Linked DNA regions of Homo sapiens: all the other regions are linked to region 1. Evidence: promoter capture Hi-C in 16 types of primary human blood cells and fetal thymus (Javierre and others, 2016). All regions are on one chromosome and are shown on one strand. The core of a region is centred on a gene start or on the middle of the fragment in contact, and the rest is flanking DNA. Distances in the headings are between cores, read along the strand shown.

Region 1 (4,861 bases), core at 1,239-3,738:
ATCCTTTAGAAGGTTCCAGAAAATTAGTGTCCCTCTTTCCAGTCTTATCCTCCCCAAAATCATAGTTCATTCAGCTACCAGAGTAATCAATCTAAAAACAAACCTGACTAGACCAGGTGCCAGTTTAAAACCAGAGATTGCCACGGACTTCAAGATGGAGTCCAAGTTTAAGGCTAATAAGGCCTTTGGTCATTGGGACCCAGACTCATCTCTTTTTTTTTTTTTTTTTTTGACAGGGTCTCACTCTGCCACCCAGGCTACAGTGCAGTGGCACAATCACACTCACTGCAGCCTCAAGTGATCCCCCCAACTCAGCCTCCAGAGTAGCTAGGACTACAAGTGAGCACACCCATGCCCGGCTAATTTTTTCATTTTTTGTAGAGATGGCGTTTCACTATGTTGCCTAGGCTGGCTCCAACTCCTGGGTTCAAGGTCCTCCTGCCTTAGTCTCCCAAAAAACTGGAAATTAAAAGCGTGAGCCACTGCTCCTGGCCTCCTGCTCCTTTTCTTCCCTTTTTGAGGCCTAAAAGTATGGATTGGTGTTTCTCAAATTAGGATATGCAAGTATCTCTGATTAAAAATGTCAAGACTTATCACAGCTAGAAACGATCCCTCTTACTAAACTTACAACATCAATTTTGGTGAAGATTTTTTGAGAAAGACATTTGATATTAATTACAGAAGAGAATACAAAATTTGTATGACTGCTTAAGTCAAAATCCAACAAAGATGGCACTGATAGCACGCAGCTTTGCGCATTACCCTGGGCCTCTGAATGGGGACGATGCTGACACATCATCACAGATGAAAAGTCCAACACTATCAAACTCTGATCACTTCATTTGCCAATGAGGCACTGACTGTAACACTGAGAACTTAATTATGCCAGATGACAGCTGACACTTTACATTAATTCATTTTTTAACCATCTCCAAGACCGTATAGGACCTCATCTCTACTCCTCTCCTCCTCGTTCTTTCTACACTAGCCACATGGCATCCTTGTTTCTGGCATACAGTATCCCACTTTAGGGTCTTTCTTTGCCATTTCCTCTATCTAAAAACCTTTTCCCATAGAATATGGCTCCCTTTCTCAACTCCTTGAAGCATTTCCCCAAATGTTGCTTTCTTAATGAGGTCACCTTCCCATTTCCCTTATCAATTACCAACATTATTCTAGAGTAATAACGTCTATTTTTCTCTTTATATCATTTTCCTTACTTATTTATTGTGTTTATTATTTGGTTCCCTACCAAAATGTAAGTTGCATGCCAGTAGTATTTTTGTTTTTTTCACTGAGTCTATTGTGTCTAGAAAAGTGCTTAGCACATTGTAGATTCTCAATGAACTACTTATTGAATGAACAGTCCTATGAACCAGGTATCTCCCTTGGCCAGATTTTACCTAATGAAGATTCTGCAGCAGTGAGAACTTGCCTAGAGTCACATCGTCAAAGGTGGAGCTAGAATCTGTAAGCAACCTGGCTCTCTACTCTTTACCACTGCTGCATGTTACTGCATGGTGCCTCTCATTTATGTGGTGAATTTCAAAAGTACTATTTTGTATGTTTCCCTTACTAGACAGTTCCCTCGCAGCAGGGGATACTACTTCATCTCTGTTCCCTGACTGGCAGTTTCTAACCCATGTTACACGCTCTATAATTGTTTACGGAATGAATGAAAGCATAAATGAACACACAAGCTACCCAAAGATTTTTACATGAATGTCCCAACTGGTTAAATCATTTTTATCTTTCAGATTTAAACTTTTATAAAAAACAAAACCAAAACACCAAACCTGTCTTCAAAAATCTAGTAATTCAAAAAAATTCTTTTGAAGTGAAAAAACATGATTTCTGATAAACGATTTAATTAAATGGAAATGTACCCTATTCTTACAATTTCTACATCCTGGTTTTTAAAGCTTTATTCGACGTTAGGAAATATTAAGCAAAAAGCTCCAAAACCAGTAACTGACTCGCTTCATTACATACACATGCAATAATATTAAGCTATCTCCGATTTAAAAAACGCAAATAATAGTGCCATTTTCGTAGACATCGAGAATTATAAAACAATCAATCATGCCAGAGAGAAACAGACACCTTCACTTACAAAAACTGACGCTAACGAGTAACACCCTCCGGAGCAATACCTGGCCCAGGGTCAGCAGGAGGTAGTCTTCTCGAATAAATGTGACAAATACTTTGGTCAGGGCATGACTAATTTGCCACATAATGCCAATAGGTTGACTCTGAGAAACTACCATCCCCGGGCAGAAGGGGCGGGTGTAGGAGAGATTTAAAAACGAGGCCCCTCCCAGGCCGCCTCAAAATCTAGGGCCCAAGATTCTTCTCCTCAGAGCTCCTCACCGTGTCTAGACTAGGGGCAAGCGACCATTTCTCAGGTAGAGGATGACGCACAAACGAAAAACTGGCCATCCAACATGAAGGACGAGGAAGCGCACGAAATCAGAGCGCACAGCTGAGTGAGGAATCCCCCTTCTCCTAACCGATTCCTCTCCCGAGAAATCGCGAGATTTCTCGCCTTCACGGGATCTCAGGCCGAAACCTCGCGGCCTCTCAGACGAGGGTGGGTTAGCGGGGGCAGCTCCCAACCCCCGTCCTGGACCCACAAATCACCTCGACCCCTGGCCCACCCCGGCCGTCACCGAGAACGGTCCCCTAGGGTGCCTAGGGACTTCCGGAGCCCGACCGGATCCGGAAGCTTCTGAGAGCGAGGGGGTGGGGCCGAAAATCAAAAAAAGCGCGGCGAAAGCTAAAGGCCGGCGCACGCTGGGCGGTGGTGGTCCCTAAGCCGGGCCGCGGCCGGTGCAATGGACTCCACTGCCTGCTTGAAGTCCTTGCTCCTGACTGTCAGTCAGTACAAAGCCGTGAAGTCAGAGGCGAACGCCACTCAGCTTTTGCGGCACTTGGAGGTGAGAGGCTCTGGGGTAGAGGACAGATGGGGCTTCCCCTAGCAATTCTTATTTCACAGTGAGGCCGAGGAGTGGCGGCCCCAGCCTGGGAAAGAAAGGACAGTCCTTCGATCCCTCTGTTGTCTTTTCGTACTGGTAAAGGCTAGTGAGTGTCGGGGTTCCGCTGGCCGCAGCGAGAGGCAAGAGCGCTCACTGAAGGCTCTAGGAAAAGCGGGAGTGGGGCAAAAGGTTGGGAAGTTCAGGTTGTTTCGAGTAGGTAACGGAAAAAGCTCGGAACTTTATCTTTTCCTTTGCTTCTAGTTTTGGTTTTTCTACGAAACCAAGCCCTCAATACACAACTATTCTCAGTGACGGAAAGTCATGATTAAAACTTGGTTTTGCCCTTCGGTAATCTATAATTGAATTTGTTGCTTACTGCTCTTACTTGAACTCGGGTTGAACTCAAACTTGAAAAACATTATTTCAACATTAAGAAGCACTTCCCCTTCCTAGTAAGCGTAATCCTTTTTCTTTACCAAAATACATTGCTTACAGTTTTTTAATCTTAGAATGCTGAATTGCCTTTTTTTCTATTCTAGTGATATGTGTCCAGACGATTCCGTTTGTTTTAGGATCTTAATCTTCTGCTTTCATTTGTTTTGCATTTACGGAATTCAAACTAACATTGACCTCAGTTTAATTTTTTTAAAGCTCAATTAAGGCTTATTTTAACTCTCTGTGTCACAGCTTTCCTCTGTTAAGGTAGAATTGAACATAATTTTAAAATATATTGTATTATATTAACCCTATGATAAAAGACTAATGTGCCAAAAATTTGTAAAATATTACAGGAAAAAAATGATTTCCAGTAGTAGAGCAACAGCAGCTGTTAGTGAAGCTGCTGTTGTATTAAATGTGTCTGTCTTATCTTGAGCTTCACTGGTGCTCCTCTTTTCCCTACTTCAAGTGCCCATCTCCTAAGTACATTTGTTTTCTCTTTTTCATTCTTTATTTTAAGAAGTGCCTGCAAACCTAATAATTAAGGTGTTAGCTGTTAAATGCTTAAGGCTTTGCTTCTGAATTAGCATAGGCTCCAGAAGCCGCAGAATAAGCAGGGCAGTCCGTTTAATTTAAAAATCGGGAGTTAAGCATTTTGTATGCTATTCTGAAGCATTACCTTTCTTTGAATAAACAGGAAGGTTGTGCACTGAAAGAGATTTAAGGCACAGGGGCTTACACCTGTAATCCCAGCACTTTGGGAGGCCGAGGCGAGCGGATCACCTGAGGTCGGGAGTTTGAGACCAGCCTGACCAACATGCGAAACCCCGTCTCTACTAAAAATACAAAAATTACCTGGGCGTGGCGTCTCTCTGTTGTCCCAGCTACTCGGGAGGCTGAGGCTGGAGAATCGCTTGAACTCGGGAGGCTGAGGTTGCATAAGTAGAGATCGCTCCACTGCACTCCAACATGGGTGACAGAGTGAGACTCCGTCTCAAAAACAAAACAAAAAAAAAGAGAGACTTAAACAAAATATGGGATGGGGTCTTTACTGTATTCCTAAACTTTCAAGGGGTTTACATAAAACTCTTCTACCGTTGTTGCAAAGGTATGAAGAGCACTGGCTTCAGGTTACTACTAAAAAGGACTTTTTGTAATTAAGAGATAAAATACATACAGAGCATAAAGTGCATTAATCTTAAGTGAAGAGTTTGATAGTTTTTAATATATAGGTACCATAGCTACCATATTGGTAGCTAACATATAGGTAGAGTAGCTACCACCTGTATCATGATACAGAACATTTCTAGCCCCATAGGGTTTCTTCATTGCCTCTTCACATAAGGTTTGGGTAAGTAGACTCATACAATATGTACTCTTGTGTCTGGCCTTTTCCACTCAATAAAATCTGTGAAATTCATGTTGCACATGTACCGCTACTTCATTTT
Region 2 (4,861 bases), core at 1,686-4,185, 4.0 Mb before region 1:
TTCATCCATTATCAAACATTTTTTCTTGTTGAGGAATGCAAGGTTAAATAATCAAATTTAAATATGCTTTATCACTCACATGAAGCAAAAGGCATTATTATTTCCATGTTATATATAACAGAACCAAAGGCAAGAGAGAGATGTGTGATTAGATGGAAGTGCTCCATGCATATACCAAGTCTTAACTTACCTTCATTGGCAGAATACTTCACTAGTAAGATGCGACTTGAGCTTAAAGCAATGAATATGGCACCTAGCAGGAATGTATACATTGTTGACAAGGAGCATATTACAGGATGACTACAGCACTGTTTTTCCATTCCACTGTTTTTTAATTACCTTAAAGAGAAAAACACTTTCATGAACGACCTTGTTGGCAGACCCTAAACGCAAATACCATTGATCGTGAGGACAAAAAAGGAATTTTTAAAAAATTTTGGCTATGACTATATCAGCACCAAGAAAGTTGAGGCATAAAGAAACTATGACAAAAGGAAAGTGAAAATCTGATAAGAGGGAGTACTCTGGAGACAGAAAACGTAGAACCAGATTAGACCTGCTGACAAAGGTAGCAGGTGAGCAAATGACACTTTGCAACAGCAGAAAAGAATTCTTCAAAGCAATTTTGAATTTTATTTTTAAATTTTATTTATTTATGTATTTTGAGACGGAGTCTCGCTCTGTCACCCAGGCTGGAGTGCAACGGCGCGGTCTTGGCTCACTGCAACCCCTACCTACCGGACTCAAGCGATTCTCCTGCGTCAGCCTCCAGAATAGCTGGGACTACAAGCGCCCGCCACCACGCCCGGCTAATTTTTGTATTTTTAGTAGAGACGGGGTTTCACTATGTTGGCCAGGCTGGTCTCGAACTCCTGACTGTGATCCGCCCGCCTCTGCCTCCCAAAGTGCTGGGATTACAGGCGTGAGCCACCGCGCCCGGCCTCGCTTTTACTCTTATTAGTAAATAATTTTGCTGTAAGATAAGGCTTTCAGAATTGTATTTTCCTCCTCTTTTCCCTCGGAGGAAAAAGCTTATTAGGACAGACTTCATTACAATAACGACCAAAATGGAAATATCTGAAACACTGCTGTAAAGTTTTACTGAACTAGTTAGTGTTTGAAATGGAGGAGATCGTAGAAATCAATGAATCTAAGGCCCTCTTTTGATAGGCTGAGGACACTAAACCCCAGGTTGGGTAAGTAACTTGCCCAAAGCCTCCCAGCGTACTGTAGGAATAGCGCATAGAGCCTGCGGGGAGTGGGGAGAAATGCCAATACTGACAGCCCCATTGGGCGCACGCCTACAGGACGCCTCCCCGACAGGAGGGGGCCAGATTTCCCTTCACAGTCAGGGACTACCCTTCTAGTCACACATGCGCAGTAGGGCTCTTCACTGGCGCACCCTCCCCTCAGACGCAGGCGCAATTCCTTGCCCGCGGGGCGCGGTTACCTCCCTCAGAAGAGCTTCTAGTGGAAGAACGCACATCCTAGAGCTGAGACAGTAACTGTCTAGCCCCGTAGTAGCAGCAGTAGCCTTTAGGGTCCATACGTGGAGAAGCTACAGTAGGTATAGGCGAAAAAGCCCCTCCCTCTAAGCCGCCTATTGCAGAACAAAAACCACGATTACGTCCGGATTGGGAAAAAGCGGACCCGACACCCATTGCGCAGGCACGTTCAGTGTTACGCTTCCGGAAGGAGGGGAGAAGCGGCTTATCCCGCCCCAGCCCGGCCCCTTTCTCACGTCACGTGCCGGGAGAGTCTAGTGTCACGTGAGGCCCCGGTGGCGGCGCAGCTACGGCAAGAGAGTGAGAAGGAAGGGAAGCCGGAAGGGGCGCGAGTGAAGCAAAGCGAGGACAGACAGCTCGCAGAGGGCGAGGGGTGCGTGTGCGTCCGCTTCTCACCTCAGGTCTCCCTTCGGCCCCGCTGCCCTCCCTCGCGGCTGGGTGACAGCTGGGTCCGGTCCGTCGCGGGCTGCCTGGGGTGCGAGGATCGCGCACCCCGTCTTCGCGCGCTGTGCCTGCCGCCCCGCCCCCTCGTCCCGCCCGTCCCGTCGCGTCGCGTCCCGTCCCCTCGGGTGCTGCCAGCCGGGTGCTGATGCGAGTCGGTGGCAGCGAGGACATTTTCTGACTCCCTGGCCCCTGACACGGCTGCACTTTCCATCCCGTCGCGGGGCCGGCCGCTACTCCGGCCCCAGGATGCAGAATGTGATTAATACTGTGAAGGGAAAGGCACTGGAAGTGGCTGAGTACCTGACCCCGGTCCTCAAGGTAAGCCAGGCCAGGGTTGCCGGGAGCTGTCAGGCACATGCTCGACTTTTCAGGGACCAGGCGCCGCAGGAGTCCCCGCTTTCTCCGGCGGGGCAAGGTGTAGGAAGGCAGTAGGGCTCGAGACACAGGGAAGTGTGCAGCCCCCACCCGTAGTCTTAACCGGCTGTTCGTTAGGGCTTTCTGACTCCTCAGGGGTAAACTTGGAGCGACGCTCTGCGTGTTCCTGCCTTCTCCCGTCATAACTCTGCGCGGTCGGGTACGTCGGGTTGGAAGGGTGTTCGGAGGCTGAGTAGATTGAAGAACGTTAAATCCAAACACTGGAAGTCTTTTAGCCTTTTTAAGCAAGGATTTTGCTTCTCTTTAAAAAATGAATTTAGTGTTTGACACACAGAGGTCAAAAGAGACCTGAGGTGAGGTCACTTTTCCTTTAAGTTTCATGAAAGTCCGCTGTAGTGGGGAAGTTGTGACTGCGATCCCAACTCGTTTAGATTTCAGAGGAAGGAGGTGAAATTGGCAACATTATCTCATTCAGTAACCTTGAACCCATCTAACGAGCAAAACCTTTTTCCCAAGCTTTTCAGATAGCCGTAGCTGGTTATTAGTGATAACAAGGCACGGTTTGACCTTCCTGGCTGTATAATTTTTAAAAATATATTGGCAACAGTACAGCATTTTTAAAGTAAAAAATTGTGACACATTAGCTGTTACAGTAGTGACTGATTTTTTTTTTAAAGGTAAATTTCTACAACTGCCTTCAAGCTTTTCTTTTATAACTCTTTTGGAGTGTTTTGTTGTAACTTCATTTTTGCTTTCTGAAAAGTGAGCAAGAATAGTAAATTAATGGGAAGTTCTTGCTTAGTTTTTGTTTTTTTTTTCTAGTTGTTTTTAAGCTTTCAGTTAGAATGTACCAATCTCAGTGTGGGGGTGAAATACCTTAATATGCTAAGAATAGTGGAGAGTTTTGCTTTGCTCCCTTTCCATGACAAAGGGAAGTACTAGGTCTATACTTTTTAAAATACGTTTTTGTAAAGCTCCTTTTAAAAGAATAACTTATTGGCCAAGTAAGAAATAAACCAGCGATTATAAATGAGAATTTCAACTGTTGCTTTGCTTACATTTGTTTACTGTGAAAGTCATTTTAAGATTATTCAGTCAAACTAAGATTGGAAAATAATTTTCACATTTGAATCAAATGCTTTTACATAATTATGTTAACTTTTCAGAATATCATATCTACCTAGGTATACAGTATTTTAATAATACACCATTGTACAACTTTTTAGTTTCCGGGAGAGAGGAGCAAGAGACTGCCCAAATGAAATATAAAATGTATGATGTAGAATTATGTTTTCAGGAGTCCATCATACTTGCTCACCAAACTGAAAAGGAACTGTTGGCATGTCAGTATGTATGGTATATGTCTTTAGTAAAAAGGAAAGAATGAATGACCGTCTCCTTGATACTCCTGTGCAAACTGTTGTTTACAGAGAGAATCCTTACAGTTTCCTGCTTAGGGAGGGCAAGGAGAAAGAACAAAATCCTCAGGAAATAAGTAATAGCCTTCTCCTAGCAAGTAAAAATTAAGAAAAATCATGTTTTGTTTGGAGTATGTACATGCAGTAAACACTGAAGTTCTTACAATCATCTCTAAGGTTCTGCTTAATTGGTAGAGGCCCCAATCTCATCTGCTCCATCCCCTGACTGCTGTTGCTTAAGCTAACCTGATCTCTTTATTATTCTGTTAAGCACACTCTTGGTTTGGGGTTTTGCATGTGCTCTTCCCTCTATCTGAAACGCGCTTCGCACTTAACAGCCTTATGGCATGTTCCTTTCCTTAAGGTTTTTAAGTCATTATTCAGTGAAGTCTTTGTTCTCTTACCATTCTATTTTAAATGGCCATCTCTCCCCAGCCACCCCACAGATTCCTCTCAGCTTCATTTTTCTTTATGGTATGTTATTCATTACCATTTGGCTTTTCTTCCTCAACTGGAGTTGAAACTCCTTATGAGGGCAAGAATAAATTTGTATTTATGTTATTCACCCCCAAATATCCCCACTGCCTCAAATAGTGTCTGGCACATAGTAAACATTTGTTGAATGAATAATGTTTATAAATGAGTGTTTTCATTTTTGTAGACTCTACCAGAAAATCTTACATATAACTTAAAGTTTAGAAAAATTTAGAGAATAGTGTGTCAGTATCTTGGTGGAGATGAGAATTAGAGGAAAATGCTAAATAATTTCTAGATTTGGTTTCTAACATTATTCAGTTTAAATAAGACTGGCTGAATTGTAAGATGTCTAAACATCTTTAAGACATTTTTGCTGTGCTGTAAAATAAAGGTATTTGTTCATTTCACAGAATCACTGTAAGGCTTTATTTTTATTTAAATCTTAGAATGTTTGTACATAGAGCTTGGCCGGGCGCAGTGGCTCACGCCTGTAATCCCAGCACATTGGGAGGCCGAGGCGGGTGGATCACCTGAGGTCAGGAGTTCGAGACCAGCCTGACAAACATGGAGAAACCCTGTCTCTACTAAAAATGCAAAAATTAGCCGGGCATGGTGGCACATGCCTGTAATCCCAGCTACAGG
Region 3 (4,861 bases), core at 1,667-4,166, 3.4 Mb before region 1:
GAGAAGAAATTAAATTTTTCTTTAGGTTTGAAGTGAAACGATTTTGGATCCTTGGGAAATAGAACAGGGCAACTGGTGCAGTCTAAATCAGTTACTGTTTCCCCCTCAATCCAGGGTATGTAAGAGATGGGTAGAAGGGGTGGAAGAAAAAAGGGGGAAAGACACCAACTAATTTTCTCCTTTTCTCTCTTCATAGGTGGCAATTGGATATGGCTGAATGTGGCATCTTTTACAGTTAGCTGCCTTCCAAATATATGGTGAGGATGCAAAATACTTGTACAGCTCCTTCATGAAGGAAAATATAAATACTTGGTGATACTAACAGGGTACCATTAAAAAAATATAGTTAACTCTCACTGAACCCCAATCCAGAGACAAAGATAATCCAAACATATTCAGCACTTTAAAACTTTTAAACAGTAGCACATCTCCATCTTAGCAGCCTCAATAGTCTGGGATGTAGTCCCAAATAAAAATTCTATTACAAATAATTATGAGAGAATACCAGCCTTAAAACCATATGTTATATTCCTGAGATCTGAATCAGTCTTATTTTAGGCATGGTGATAGGACCTTAATAAAACATTTTCATATAGTCATATGTTTTATTTCTTGTGTAATAAACTATTTCATCATTGAAGATCTAAATTTTACAGCAAAAAATCCCAACAAAAGCAACCTGAAAAATTAGAGAATAGAAGATAAAATCTCTTATAATAAAGTGCAATCAATAGTTAACAATAATTAGACTGTGATGAACTTTGATAAGAGCAAATAAAATGGAACTTGTTCAAACTAAATATTTGTAGTTAAGCACTATTCTTTATGAAGGTATACTCACACAGGATCCAAAAATGCAGAAAAGCCACATTATGTCTTATAGGGAGACAGGAACTGGTTATAACTCTCATAGTCTCAAAGCTGAAATTTTAGAACTGGTAAAATGGTGATTTCTCGATTCAAATTTATTCAGTGGCAAAAAAGAAAAGTGATAACAATATTTTTGATATTATGATCTTCTGCTCAGGACAGTCCCCCTCCTTGGACAGCACTTCCCTCCCACCCAAATCTGAATTATTCTTCAACGTTCCTTTATCTATTTCAATCCCACTGTCTCTAACTTTATGCAATTAAGTATACTGTTCTTTTGACACAATCACATTCTGATGAGTATTTCTGCCAAATTTCTAACATGTATTTTATCTTGTGTTTCCCCACCCTGAATGAAAGGTCCTCATAGGCAAGTACAATGTTTTATAATTCTTTGTTATTATGCAGCACTCAGTATAGTGCTAGAGAATCTATTTCCAAAAAGTACTCCAATCTTCAGAATAAGTCAGAACAGATTTTAACATAGTTCTGAGTATGAAAATAAAATAATTCATTAGTTTGGTAAAAGAAATAAGATTAAATCTTATTTAATTTTATAATTGACATAATTGCTGCTAATATATTGAACAGGTAGTCTGAAAGTTTTATATACAGCTGTATTTTCTAGAATTATTGAATGAATGTTTGTGAGTCACTCTTCTAAAAATTTAGATGGATAGATTTTTAGGCTGTTAGTGCTAGAAAATAACTCAGAAGTTATCTCTAGTCCAACCTCCTTCTTTTGATGACAAACTTAGGTCCAATGTTTATTAACTTACTTGTCTTGTCATAGTTATTGCTCGAATTTATTCTAGAACTCATGTTTCTTGAATTCCAGGCTAATCTTCTTTTTACGAAATCATACCATCTCTTCTGGACAGTGGATACTAAACATATAACTGCTACAGGTAGACCTTATAATAACATAAAGTTATTTACTAAAATAACTCTCAGTGTGAAAAATTAGGAATTATAAAATCAAGCTTGAGTTAAGTACCACTTATCCCTATTTATGCTTATACATATTCAGATTACAGGAGAGGGAAGAGAAAACTCAGCAGAAATTTGCATTATGATACTTTTAAATACATGTATTACTTTTAGATAAACAGTGATCAAATAAAGTCCTTAAGTCCCCAGTGGAAAATGATAATATAAGAGACTGTATGAAAGCCAACTAGTATATCTGTTTGTTGTCACATACATTATTGCCTCTAAAGAGCTTAGTTACCAATATTTCCCTTAAGATGTCCTTTTCTGCCAGGGTTGTCAGCGTGGCACAAAGGCCTTTAAAAAAGGTCTTTTAAAGGTTGCTTTTAAAATTACCCTAAATCACAAGATGCAAGTTTACAGACCATTAAAATAATGTATAAAAATGCTGGCATTTACTTCAACTGATTAGAACAGAAGTAATTCTCCACTGTAATGCTAACAGTAGCAATATTTTCTCAGTAATGTGTTGTTCCTACCTTATGCAGGCGTGACCTAGAGATTTGCAAAACTCCTCAATCGCCAACGCTTTTGTACCATTCATATAAGAAAGATAGCCAGGGATGAAGATAATTCCTGGACTTTTGCCTTTTAGCTTCTTATAAGCCAGGTTTGGAAGGTCTGGTCGATTAAGGAATGAGAGTGACGTCTTTTGTCTACAAGCTAAACAAAGTACACAAAAAGTAAACTATGGTTTGTAAACTCAGTCTTTGGAAAACCATATATATTTTCGATCTTAACTTTCTTATCTCAATGAATTGATGTTAAATACTATTTCCATTTAATAGAAAAAACAAGAACAGACTCAAAGTACTAAGTAAGTCTGTGCATGAGATCTCCAGTTTTAAAATCATGCCAACATCAGTAACTTCTTTGAGCAAAGTCCAATCTTGATTCTTCCAAAATACACAATGCGGTAGGAATTTCAAGACAACAAAAGACAGAGACTAATCGAAAAACATTTTCTTGTTACTGCTTTATCATGTATTCTAAACAGTATCAATCAACATTCAGATTTACCCGCAATAGTTTCAGCCCTCTCTTGTGAGATTTTTGGCTTTGTTTTTAAATTTATTTTTTGTTTGACAAGTTTCACATCCCTTATTTTCTTTCTTTTTTTTTTTTTTTTTTTTTTGAGACAGGGTCTCACCTTGTCACTCAGGCTAGAGTGCAGTGGTGCAATCCTAGCTTACGGCAGCCTGGACTTCCTCGACTCCTCAGGCTCAAGCCATCGTCCCACCTCAGCCTCCCCAGTAGCTGCACTACACGCATGTACCACCACACCTGGTTAATTTTTGTATTTTTTGTGGAGACAGGGTCTCACTATGTTGCCCAGACTGGTCTCAAACTCCCAGGCTCAAGTGACCCTCCCACCTTGGCCTCCCATTGCTGAAATTACAGGTGTGAGCCACCATGCCTGGCCTTTCATCCCCTACTTTCTTGGGGGTCAGGGAAGAAACAGGTTTGGTCTGCCCTTGCAAAATTGTTTCAAAGGAGGACGTGCTGTGCCCTTTTTATTACTGACTCCCATCCACCCGCCCACCCATCCGCCTACCTCAACCAAGAAATCATGAGCCATGGTAACAACTCATAATTTTATTGTCAGCTGAGGTGGGTTCAATGAGCAGTTTCTTTAAAAACAACATATGATAGTATCGTTTTTGGAAAGAGATTTCTTATAGACCTATGCAATCACTTTGCGTTTTGTTGGTTTGGCTTTCTGTAAATGGTACACAGAGATTTTAGTGTAATTTAAGTACAACAGTACAATTGGTGAACTTCATAAGATTATCCTACTTCATCTTTTTCAAATTTTCCCCCATTATAAAATCTATACTTGCTCTTAAGAAACAAGTAGATATTTTTTTAAAAGAGTCATTTATAATCCCACCTCTTCTTTCCAAAGACACTAGTTTTGTGTACTTCCTTAGAGTCTTTGGACTAATACATTTTCTTTTTTTATATTAAATGAAGCCGTCCTCCACTTTGAAAACTTCTCAGTCTTGAGAAGAGAATCCATGTGTGCTGCTAAAGTTTTCCCCATTTTGTAATTAAGAAGTTGATTTTTTAAAGATGTAACTGAAGGCCTTAAAGTTATCCTTTTTACATAAAAGCTTGTTTCAAAGTATAGAGAAATATGCCAAATTTAAAACTTTTGGTAAGGACCAGTTATGCTGATCCACTCATGTTCATTTCCCATCTACTCAGCTGAGCACTAAAAAAAATTCTCACTATCCTCTTCCAGAAATCACCTCTTAAAACATAATTTCCCCGAGATGATTATAATTTATTTAATGTAAGTTCTAAGTAGACAGATTCATATAATTATATTCATAAATCATCTTTGAACATAAGGATTAATTCAAAGCCTGGTGCATAAGTGCTCAATGAATAAGTGCTAACTAGATGAAATAATATTATACTCTGGTTAATGAATTGACATACTACATTTTACTAGGAGTATTTGCATGTGTAACATGCCTTTTGGTTGCGCACAATTAAATGCAAGTTAATCTGATTATAAAAGTTTAAAAACTGGATACAAAAATCTCCATACAAAAGATCTCTGCCGTGACATTAATTACCACTCCAAGCACCATGCATCATCTGACAGCTACGTGGCAATGGTGTGAACCACACACAAAGCCAAAAAAATAAAAGGATCTAATTCAAAGACTATATATACATATAAGAGGTTCTCTGATTTTTAGCCCAAATTCTAGTTTCCTTTGTGCAATAATGATTATGGTTCTTTCACTGAGTGGGTGCAGCAAGAAAGCAGAACTAGAAATTAGGCTTATGAGGGCGTCTACACTTTTACAAAGAACATGCCTCGCATTGTTAGGTTCCCTAAACTCAAAGGAGAGTCAGTCTAAGCATTTTAGGAGTCACAATCTACAAATTCCTAGAAGTAACTAATAATAATGCATTAAATGCACATTTTAATTTTTTCTAGTGTTGGCCTTTAATGCAGGGGAGGCAGGTAAGGAGCAGGAGCTCT
Region 4 (4,861 bases), core at 1,522-4,021, 3.1 Mb before region 1:
TTTGTAAATTCATTCACATTTTGTTACACACACACACACACACACACACATGCACACACACACACAAAATTGATGTTCTGGATGTGCTATGTTTGCCCTGTGGCTTCGAGTCCCTTCTGGCACACGCCTTTATTCTTGGGTACTTGTGACCCCTAATGTGAAAGTCCTAGGTCTGGAAGAAAGGCACCAAGAAGTCAATTAGGCACAAGAAAGCTCTGTTCACTCATGGCCCAGCCAACTTTAGTAAAGTAGAAGACTATGAGTGGATTTGAAACCAAAGCTTGAAATCGTGTCTATTTGCCCAAACCTTAGGCAACCTGGAGCAAACGCTGGTGAAGAATCAAGATTATGAGCCATTAGACTGTCTTCTTAAAGAGAGTAGAGAACTGAAAGCTTCCCACCTAAGCTTAACTCCCTCCTCTTGAGTTGACCAGGAGAAAGTTTCACTTGTAGGGCTCATCCTGCCCTTCTGGTACCGAATGTACAATATTAAAGCCTGATAAATTTACACAGCGGAAGTAGAAGACAAGAGGCCTCTGACTCAGGTCTCAAACTCCTATGAATCTTTAGCCTGCTGAGGTATGTTCTTGCTCCAAGAGTTTTAGACTAAGTTTCCTCACCTGTCTAGACTGGTGTTCTGTGTCTACTTACTTGAGTCTTCACTGATTCCTTGGATCTGTTTTTTTTTTTTTTTTCCTCTGCACCTATGATGCCTGCCTGATTCTACCAATCTGGGCTAAACTTTGAAACTGACTCAGTGGCCTATTCAGCCTAAGGCATCTGCCAAGCTGCCCAGATTTAGGTCCTGACCTCTCCTGGCCTGACTGACATGCCACAATAAAAATCATTAGAAGAAGAGCATTGATTTAAAGTGGATATATTAGTCTGTGATGTGAAGTGAGTCAAAAGAAAAGCTCAACTCACCATACTTGAGTGACAATCACCACCTTTAGCAAATTCTCTGCTCCACAAGGCATTTTTCTTTCTCCTACTCACTCATTTGCCATTTCCTGTCATTCATTCACATGATACTGAATTGAATACTACTTTGTGTCTGGCCTCATCCTCACAGTGGGGGCGTTGAGGAGTGAAGGCAGCTTTCCACCTTTGAGGACATTTGGGTCCAACAGAGTTCACAGCCCGCATTCCCTCATCTTGGAGTGACATTGCACGTTTTGACATAAACATTAAAGCAACAATAGCAAACTGAAAAATTTCATCTCAGTAGATAGGACAGAGAGTATCTTCAAATAGTATTTATTGAACAGATAAATATTGGTCAAGCTGTGTACCCAAAATTTGGGGTGATGGGTAAAAGTCCTGTAGGAGGAGGTTCTGTAGAAGTGATTGCTGAGCCTTCTTCCTGCCCCCGCTCCTGTGTGGGGAGCCCCAAGTAGGAATGATGAGCAGGAGTCTGCCCAGTTCTGCCACATGTGTGGGATCTTGCTGCAGGGACTGCTGTAAACTGTGAATTGTTTCCGTAGTTTCTACTAAAGTAGCAACAAAAAACACTGCCCAAGGGTTTGAGGGAGGAATGAAAGTCTCTTTCTTGGGTGGAGTCTGGAGAAACACAGCTTAGTTTTCTTTGATATGAAATGGTTCAACGGTGAGAGGGTAAGTTTGCTCTGGAGTTTTGGGAAAATCAAAGGGCTCCAATTATCTCCTTAAGAAAGGAAAATTGATTGAAGTTTTGGTGGATCCCAGCCAATACCTAGGGTAGAATAAGACCCAGAAATGATATAAAAACAGCGAACTTATGGGATGAATCCTTGCTTATTTTCTTTCTGAACTTTCAGATTAAACAATGCTCAGAGAAAAGAGAAAGAATCCTGCCCCCCACGCCAATGAAACAGCATTTTGGATTTTGTCATACTGTAAAAAGGTTGCAGTCTTGGAAAAATAGGGTAGTTTTGAGTCAAATTAAGAATCTTTCATTAGGGTCTTGCTCAAGTACTTTTTGTTTAAACTTTCTACTTGGAAATAATTTCAAACTTCAAAAAAAGTTGCAAAAGTAAAAATATTAAAAGACACACACACACACATACACACACACACACACACACACTTATTCCATCTACCTAGATTCATCTGTCTTTAACAATTTACCCCCTTTACTTTGTCATTTGCTTCCATCTCTCTCTGTATGCATATACATGTATATCTATACATGCATGTATGTATGTATAAGTGTATGCATATACATATGCATGCACACATGAACACACACCCTTTGAGGCTAAGTTATTTATATCATAGTCCTTTGACTGCTAAATAATAACTGTGTATTTCCTAAGAATAAAAATATCTCTTACATAACAACATCGGAGTTATAAATACTTTTATCTAGTCATCTGTCCATATTCTAATTTTGTCAGTTGATCTAATAAATGTCTTTCATACCATTTCCCCCCTTCTAGTACAGGATTCAATCTAGAGTTAGGTATTGCAATCAATTGTCATGTCTCTTTAGCCTCCTTTAATCTAGAATATTTTCAGAGCCTTTCTTTATATTGACATTTTTGAAAAATATAGTCCTCTCTCCCTTTTTAATATACCTTTTTTTTGTTTAAAATTTCAACTTTTATTTTAGATACAGGGGTACATGTACAAGTTGCATGAGGATATTGTGTGATGCTGAGGTTTGGGGTACAGATCTTTTCATTTAGGTAGTGAGCATGGTACTTGATAGGTTATTTTTCAACCCATGCCTTCCTCCTTCCCTTTATGCTCTAGTAGTCCACATTGTCCATTGTTTCCATATTTATGTCCAGATGTGCTAAATGTTTAGCTCCCACTTATAAGTGAGAACACGTGGTATTTTTTTTTCCTGTTCCTGCATTACTTCACTTAGGATTTTGGCCTCAAACTACATCCACGTTGCTGCAAAGGACATGATTTCATTCTTTTTAATGGCTGCATAGTATTCCACAGTGTATATGTACCACATTTTTTTTCCAGTCCACAAATGATGGACAACTGGGTTGATTCTATATTTTTGATACTGTGAAGGGCACAGTGATGAGCATACATTTGCACGTCTTTTTGGTAGTATAATTTATTTTCCTTTGGGTATACACCCAATAATGTGATTGCTAGGTTGAATGGTAGCACTATTTTAAGTTCTTTGAGAAATATGCAGACTGCTTTCCACGGTGACTAACTTACATTCCCACCAGAAGTGTATAAGCGGCTGGGCGCAGTGGCTCAAGCCTGTAACCCCATCACTTTGGGAGGCTGAGGCAGGAAGATCACGAGGTCAGGAGATCGAGAGCATCCTGGCTAACATGGTGAAACCCCATCTCTACTAAAAATACAAAAAAATTTCTGGGCGTGTGGTGGCAGGCACCTGTAGTCTCAGCTACTCGGGAGGCTGAGGCAGGAGAATGGCGTGAACCCGGGAGGTGGAGCTTGCAGTGAGCAGAGATAGCACTACTGCACTCCAGCCTGGGCAACAGAGCGAGACTCCATCTCAAAAAAAAAAAAAAGTGTATAAGCATTTCTTTTCTTCACAACCTTGCCAACATCTGTTTTTTGACTTTTTAATAATGGCCATTCTGGCTGGCGGGAGATGGTATCTCATTGTGATTTTGGTTTGTGTTTCTCTAATGATTAGTGATGTTGAACATTTTTTCATGTTTGTTGGCCACTTGTATCTCTTCTTTTGAGAAATGTCTGTTCATATCCTTTGTCCATTTTTTTAAAAGGAGTTGTTTTTTGCTTGTTGATTTGTTTAACTTCCCTTTAAATTCTGGATATTAGGCCTGTTGATTGTTTCTTTTGCTGTGCAGAAACTTTTTAGTTTAATTAGGTCCCACTTGTCTACTTTTGTTTTTGTTACAATTGCTTTTGGGGACTTAACCAAAAATTCTTTGCCAAGGCTGTTACAGTTTGGCTTTGTGTCCTCACCCAAGTCTCATGTTGAATTGTAATTCCCAGTGTTGGGAGAGAGATCTGGTGGGAGGTGCTTGAATCGTGGGGGCAGATTTCCCCCTTGCTGCTCTTGTGATAGTGAGTGAGTTCTCACGAGATCTCACAGATTTGTTTAAAAGTGTGTAGCAAAAAAGTACTACTCACTTTTTTGTTTGAAAGGGTGTAGGACTTCCTCCTTTGTTCTCTCTCTCTCCTGCTTACTTCCCCTTTGCCCTTCCACCATGTTTGTAAGTTTTCTGAGGTCTCCCAAGCCATGCTTCCTGTATAGCCTGTGGAATTGCGAGTCAGTTAAACCTCTTTTCTCCATAAATTACTCAGTCTCAGGTATGTCTCTATAGCAGTGTGAGAATGGACTAATACAGAAAATTGGTGCCAGAGAAGTGGGGCATTGCTATAAAGATACCTGAAAATGTGGACACAACATTGGAACTGGGTAAGGAGCAGAGGTTGGAACAGTTTGCAGGGATCAGAAGAAGGCAGGAAGATGAGGGAAAGTTTGGAACTTCCTAGAAACTTGTTGAATGGACCAAAATGTGGATAGTGATATAGACAGTGAAGCCCGGGCTGTGGTTGTCTCAGATGGAGATGTGGAACTTATTGGGAACTGGAGTAAAGGTAACTTTTGTTATGCTTTAGCAAAGAGACTGGTGGCATTTTGCCTCTGCTGTAGAAACCTATGGAACTTTGAACTTAAGAGAGATGATTTAGAATATCTGGGAGAAGAAATTTCTAAGTGCAAAGCAAGTAAATTGGTGACTTCTTAAAGCCTATGCTCATTTGCATAAACAAAGAAATAACCTGAAACTAGAACTTATATTTAAAAAGGAAGCACAGCATAAAAGGTTGGAAAATTTGTAGCCCAACCATGTGGTAGAAAAGAAAAATCCATTTTCTGGGGGGACTTTCGAGGCTGCTGCAGAAGTTTGCATAA

The links. The method cuts DNA at HindIII sites, captures the fragments that hold promoters and counts their contacts. A CHiCAGO score of 5 or more calls a contact.
Region 2: a contact is called between a fragment that was not itself captured here and the fragment with the promoter of DZIP3 in region 1, in 1 of 17 cell types (fetal thymus). The highest score is 6.6, in fetal thymus.
Region 3: a fragment that was not itself captured here is called in contact with the fragment with the promoter of DZIP3 in region 1 in 6 of 17 cell types (fetal thymus, total B cells, naive CD4 T cells and 3 more); the score reaches 7.3 in fetal thymus.
Region 4: a fragment that was not itself captured here is called in contact with the fragment with the promoter of DZIP3 in region 1 in 1 of 17 cell types (total B cells); the score reaches 5.9 in total B cells.

What each region holds. Positions count from the first base shown.
Region 1 is chr3:108,587,349-108,592,209 of GRCh38, reverse strand. It overlaps DZIP3 (DAZ interacting zinc finger protein 3), which reads right to left and starts at 2,488. Exons shown (of 33, transcript NM_014648.4): 1 at 2,371-2,488. It overlaps CIP2A (cellular inhibitor of PP2A), which reads left to right and starts at 2,772. Exons shown (of 21, transcript NM_020890.3): 1 at 2,772-2,936. The coding sequence starts at 2,835. RefSeq lists an enhancer at 2,294-2,573. The HindIII fragment of the contact is 803 bases long and covers 1,925-2,727 here.
Region 2 is chr3:112,558,863-112,563,723 of GRCh38, reverse strand. It overlaps ATG3 (autophagy related 3), which reads left to right and starts at 1,762. Exons shown (of 12, transcript NM_022488.5): 1 at 1,762-2,267. The coding sequence starts at 2,196. It overlaps SLC35A5 (solute carrier family 35 member A5), which reads right to left and starts at 1,679. Exons shown (of 7, transcript NM_017945.5): 1 at 1,451-1,679; 2 at 191-339. The coding sequence starts at 320. RefSeq lists enhancers at 1,381-2,190, 2,191-3,000. The HindIII fragment of the contact is 186 bases long and covers 2,843-3,028 here.
Region 3 is chr3:111,979,446-111,984,306 of GRCh38, reverse strand. ABHD10 (abhydrolase domain containing 10, depalmitoylase) reads right to left here. Exons shown (of 5, transcript NM_018394.4): 2 at 2,340-2,523. Among named protein-coding and RNA genes, the nearest start is that of ABHD10, 2.8 kb to the right of the region's middle. The HindIII fragment of the contact is 2,121 bases long and covers 1,856-3,976 here.
Region 4 is chr3:111,662,377-111,667,237 of GRCh38, reverse strand. It overlaps a transcript of CD96 not described here. Among named protein-coding and RNA genes, the nearest start is that of PLCXD2, 9.9 kb to the left of the region's middle. The HindIII fragment of the contact is 4,726 bases long and covers 409-4,861 here.